Regions from separate parts of the Homo sapiens genome. Here region 2 is linked to region 1. Evidence: promoter capture Hi-C in 16 types of primary human blood cells and fetal thymus (Javierre and others, 2016). All regions are on one chromosome and are shown on one strand. The core of a region is centred on a gene start or on the middle of the fragment in contact, and the rest is flanking DNA. Distances in the headings are between cores, read along the strand shown. Region 1 holds the start of PSTPIP2 (proline-serine-threonine phosphatase interacting protein 2). Region 2 overlaps SLC14A2 (solute carrier family 14 member 2).

What was found. The method cuts DNA at HindIII sites, captures the fragments that hold promoters and counts their contacts. A CHiCAGO score of 5 or more calls a contact.
Region 2: a contact is called between a fragment that was not itself captured here and the fragment with the promoter of PSTPIP2 in region 1, in 2 of 17 cell types (erythroblasts and monocytes). The highest score is 7.8, in erythroblasts.

Annotation. Positions count from the first base shown.
Region 1 is chr18:46,070,949-46,073,648 of GRCh38, reverse strand. It overlaps PSTPIP2 (proline-serine-threonine phosphatase interacting protein 2), which reads left to right and starts at 1,389. Exons shown (of 15, transcript NM_024430.4): 1 at 1,389-1,493. The coding sequence starts at 1,461. RefSeq lists silencers at 1,094-1,253, 1,384-1,433, 1,474-1,853 and an enhancer at 983-1,484. The HindIII fragment of the contact is 16,135 bases long and covers 1-2,700 here.
Region 2 is chr18:45,667,598-45,670,297 of GRCh38, reverse strand. SLC14A2 (solute carrier family 14 member 2) reads right to left here. Exons shown (of 20, transcript NM_007163.4): 14 at 2,276-2,465; 15 at 1,821-1,949; 16 at 800-992. All of the region lies in intron 7 of LOC105372093 (a long non-coding RNA gene), which reads left to right. Among named protein-coding and RNA genes, the nearest start is that of SLC14A2, 53 kb to the right of the region's middle. The HindIII fragment of the contact is 7,663 bases long and covers 1-2,700 here.

The DNA.
Region 1 (2,700 bases), core at 140-2,639:
TCTGCTGCCCCTTGATGGTTCTGCCAGGCTTCTCTGCCTTCCTTCTAATCTCACTGCTTTCAAAGGATATGAGCAAGTACGTAAATGGATGCATCCCTTGGAGATGCTTGGTGGCTGGAGGCCACCTCTCCATCTTTGCAGTTGTGGATGACTTTATTGGTGGGAGTTCATCTGAGTGGGGCTGGCTGCAGTTTTATGGAGCAGAACTTGTTCCAGGTGCTTCACATAATTCTAGCAATTGCCCTTTCACTGTGTCTGGGTGTAGCTAGAACCTGCTCCAGGGGTGAGTGCTTGCTTCTCCAGGCTGGGCTGGTGCCAGTCTTGGCAACCTTGACCTTTATCCTCCCCACTTTGAGCACCTATTCCTCTGCCCAGGATGGATCTGCCCCAGGAAGGATGTCTGTCTTTGCATCTATTTAGAAGGGCAGAGCTCTAACCTTGAGCTCTTCATCCCTTAAATAAACTGTGATCTTGGGCAAGCCATTCAACCCCTCTGGGCCTCAGGTTGGGCTTCGGGCCTGTCGCACCAGGCAGTACTTTGTCATAAGCCCTGCATTACTATTAAAAGTCATGGCAAAAACCGCAATTACTTTTGTACCAATCTACTACAATGCAGAGAGGGGTCTGACCTGCCCTGGGGTTTTATTTGTGAGGGTGGAAGAGTGGAGGGAGAAGAAGGAATCTTGGGCCCCTCTTGCTGGGGTGGAATGGGCAGGGAAGGGTCTTGCCTTTTGAGAATGGAAAGGGAGTCAGAGAGCGGCTGAGCTCCTGGAAGCCCTGTTAGGACACCACCAAGTGACTAGAGTCAAGGGGAAACAGCAGAGATGACCTCTCCATGACATTTTAGACTAAAACGTGACCCCATTCATTAAAAACACCTGCAACAACAAAAAGTAAAATAAAAAATGAACCGTCCCCCAGGGCCTGATCTGCAGCAGGTGCCGGTGGGGCCCGCCGTGAAGCCAAGGCGTCTGCGGGAGTTGTCGGCCCCAGGCCTTCTGTAGCTTAAACCGGGTCCTCGCGACCATCTGATCAGATCCCGTCTATCACCCCGCAGAGCCTGGATTTCGTGCTGTCCAGGGGGCCTTGTGGGCAGGAACCCAAGCCAGGACCAGTTATTTCCAATACCCAAAGACTTCCAGAAGGAGGCAGCTAGCTTCGGGCTGATATATTGATCGTGGCCCGACGCTGTGGGGCTTTAAATGGGCCTGGGTCCGGGTGCGGGCTGCAGCCCCTGGCCGGGTGAGCGCCGAGGGTCCCGCCCAGGTCTCGCGCAGGGAGCGCAGAGCGCCGACGGCGGCCGTCGCAATCGGGAGTGGTTTAGGACCCGGGGGCGGCTTCCCTGCGCGAGTGTGGAACGCAGAAGTTGAGTCTGCGGAGCCGCGGGCAGTGGCAGTCAGGCCTCCCCGCTCTGTGCTACCTGCGGCCCGGCTCTCCTCCGCGCCCCCACTCGCGCTGCGATGACGCGCTCACTGTTCAAGGGAAACTTTTGGGTAAGTCGTGGGGCCGACAGCGGATCGCGGGGCTCAGGACCCGGCCCGGGCGGGAGGCCAACGCGGCGGGCGTGGGGGGCTCCCCAGCTCCGGCGCCACTCGGTGACCGCGCGCCCGGGGGCTTGGCGGAGCTCGCGCGTGAAGGGATCGGGGCCCCAGCCCCACTGCTCGAGGGGCAGACTTGGAGCGGACGCCGGGCTGCTGTTCCCTCTCTGTCCCCCGCTACCCACCGCGTGCCCGCGAGTCCCGGGGGCTCGGACTCCAGGGCCCACCCTCTGCCGCCCGCGCCCCCAGCAGCGCGTGCTCCTGAGGACGCAGAGAGCCGAGACACCTTAGAGTCAGGACATCAACCCCTCCTCTCACAGGCGAAGCAGAGACCCTTAGGGAGGCGAGACCCGTCCGGGGAGAGTCTCTGCCGGTCCCTGGAGCTGAGCCGTGAGAGGATCTGGGGGGATCTGGTGTGGGGGCTTGTGAGCTTTACCGGGTTGACAGCAGCAGCTGCCCCCCGGGATCGTCCTTTCCAGGAAACGTACAGCATAGAGGGCTTCCCTTTGCTGGAGCTTTCCCTGTTCTACAGCCTTGTTTCCCGAGCCCCCTCCCCAGGCCATTGCCCCAGCCCTTCCGTCCAGGCCCCATAGCGGGGCTGATGGTGTGGGAGACCCTATAAGCTGGAGGGGGTACCCCACCCAGCCCGGTAGGGCCAGCCCAGCCTGGAGGGAGCAGGTCTGCCTGTCCCCCTCCTCTGTCTAGTCCTCTTCCCTCTGTCCTCTCACTCCCCAGGTGCCCCTCAAGGTCCATGCCCCCTCATTCAGAGGAGCTGTCCTCATCCCTTTAAGACAGGAGCAGGAGGCTGCAAACCTCAAAGTTGACCGCAGCTGCCAAGGGGCCCTGACTCCTTACTGGGGCTCCTGCTTGCCTCCCCCCACCACCCACCCAGGTAGCTTCACAGCTGCCTAGATGGTCCCTCTACCCCACGTGGGCTGCAGGGTAGAGAAACCTGGCTGGGGACCTCAGGGACACAGTTGAGACTGTGCCTGTGAGTCCCTTCACTGGAGTTTGTGAGGTCCTTCTGGGGCACTACTCACCCTAGGGTGCAGGGTGGTGGCAGCCTCACAGAGGAACCAAGGGCACCACAGATGGCTCTCACGGGAGGCTTGCGAGTTTTTCAGGTAGAATGGAGGACTGGGGGATCCCATGGCAGGCACTG
Region 2 (2,700 bases), core at 145-2,644, 400 kb after region 1:
GGATTATATACAGAATACTTATTAAAAAAAACTTTAAAAGCTCTGTTATATGTTTCTTAATGAAAGAACACCTGTGCTTTAAAACCAACAGCATGGTGTAGTAGAAAAAGCCCTGAGTTTACACTGAGAAGCACCAGTATTTAGCAAGAAAACGATTTGATTTTGGGGTTTTTGTTTTTGTTTTGGAGATAGAGTCTCATGGAGTGCAGTGACACAATCACAGCGCACTGCAGCCTCAAACTCCTGGGCTCAAGCGATCCTCCCACCTCAGCCTTCTGAGTAGCTGGGACTATAGGCATGTGCCACCAGGCCCAGCTTTGGTGAGTGAAGGGAATAAACTCTGGAGGTTGGAACAACGACTTCTTAAGCCAATAGATGGTAGCATGATGTGTACGACTTGAATGATTCCGTGTGATTGAATGAAAGAAAATGCACAACGCAAGCTGTAAGCCTCAAAAAGACTTTTTAAACATCCACAAAGAGCCCAGGCTGGAAGTCAGGAGGCTGAAGTTCTAGTCTTGACTTTGCTCCTCCCTAATTGGCTGTAAGACCTAAGGCAGGTCTCTTAACGTGGCCGCAGTTTCCTTCTCTGTGCTATCATAGAGTGAGACCAAAACTAGCCCTTTTTGCTCTCAGAAGTAGAAAAGGATGGCAGCTCATGAGATATATATGTAGAATGCTTGGTACTGTGTAATTGTTAAAAATTATTACTTGTGGATGTTTCTGATGTGCAAAATATGCAAATGCCAGTAACATCCAGTGTGGACAGACCTGCCCTTCCTCCTTCCATGATACGTACCAAGGGCACTTGGACCTCTGACCAGGTGATGTTGGGCATGGCGGATGCAGGCTGCAGCAGCGTTGTGGGGAAGAAAAGGTTGTAGTGGCCCGTGGCTGCCAGGTACAAAGTCACAGTGATATTGAAGGGCAGTGTGAAGACTGGGAGGTCCCACTTGCTGAAGATGGTACCCAGGGCACTGGAGAGGATGGGGCTGATGGCAGAAGCATGAGAGATGCTGGTCAGGAAGCCGCCTGGTCATAACACTAGACTGTGCTGCAGTGGGGGCTCCCTGTGCCTTCCTAGAGAAAAGCAGCCTGCTGGGTATTCTCTGGAGCCTGACTGGCCCTGAGCAGGTCTTTCCCTGGGCCTCTTCCTCCCTGCACAGTGACAGGGTGGGGCACCCAGACTCAACTTCAGAAGAAGATATAAGGCAGGCAGTCTCAGAACTTCCTTCAGGAATCCTATAGCTCCATCCCCAGGCATCAGGTTGGGGAGGCCGAGGGGAGGGAATCACATTCATTCAACAAATGTTTTTTTGAGTGGCTGTGTGCATGGGCTTTGTGGCCAGGGTGCCCTGTGTTTTCTCAACATGGGGTAGAGCAGGCACTGAGGGCTTCCCCATGGCTGGGCCTTCAGCCTACCCTGGGAGGTGGTCTTGGTCTGCTCAGGGGTCCCAAGGATTTAGAAAAGCCGGGGTAGGGGAGGGTTGAAAAGATTTCCAGAAACTGACAGGACCCTATAGTGCAGCTCTTAACCAATGTGGGCCTCAGTTTCTTTCTCTGCACTCTGGCAGGGTGAGACCAAAAACCATTTAGATCTTAAAAGAATAATAAAGGGTGGTCGCTAATGGGATACTGTGTATAGACCTAGCATGGGGCTACCATGGTATAAACTTAGTTATTAGTCCAGTGGACATTTCTGATGTGCAAGCTAAATACATGCCACTTTAATATCACGTTTAGACAGACGGTCATGGGATTGGGATGAAAAGGTTGGTGGCCATTGATATGAACCCACAACCCTTCAAAAGCAAACTTACCAAGACATGGACATGATGATGACGGGTAGCAACAGCCACCAGTAGTAGTCACCTTTGTCTGAGAACACGGCCATCAGCAGCCCCACCAGCACCCCATTGTAGCCGTGAAATCCTGCAGCGATGGCCGACCTGGCAGGAGAGGGAGGGTCAGGTGGAGCAGGGGCTTCCCCAGGGCCCTTTACATTTTCCTATTGAGTCAGATTCTTTTTATCTGGGGCCTGACTACACACGCCTTCAAATAGACCACCCTTCTGGGAGTGGGGAAGGAAGACAACCCTATGAATCCTTCATATTTCTCTAGAAATATGTTGCTATGACAAAATAACCAGGGAACAGTCATTTTTAGTTGTCAGTGTCCTTATTTTGAGGATTTCTCAGCTGGGAAGAGGAAGAATGGTCCCCATGGGGAGTGACTTCTTGGCTACATGTTTGGACCCTGAGCCTCTGGGACTTACTTGTCCTGACTCAGGATGAGGGCTGTCAAGGTGGACATGATGGTACCCAGGCAGCCTGAGATCGCCCACCAGGGGTTCTGGATGAAGAGGCCGAGGATGATGAGGATGCCGCTGAGGGGGTTGTTCACAAACATCACTTGAGATGTGCCTCGGAGGACCCAGTCAAAGAACTGGAACACTGGGGACTTGTCTGAAATGGAACCGGGGCAGGAAGTAGGCAAGTGCTCAGTGTGGGCAGCCCTGGGTGGGCAGATGGAGGGTGTGAGGGAATCTGGATATCCGAAGTGGGTTTGCAGGAAGCCAGCCACCTGCTGTCACCTGCCACCAAAGATGGTAAACAAGGAACTCAAGAGAGCATCTGACTGCCAAGAAAACTCTTGAGACCCATCACCAGCCAGATGTGACCTCCAGGTTGTTTTTCTGGC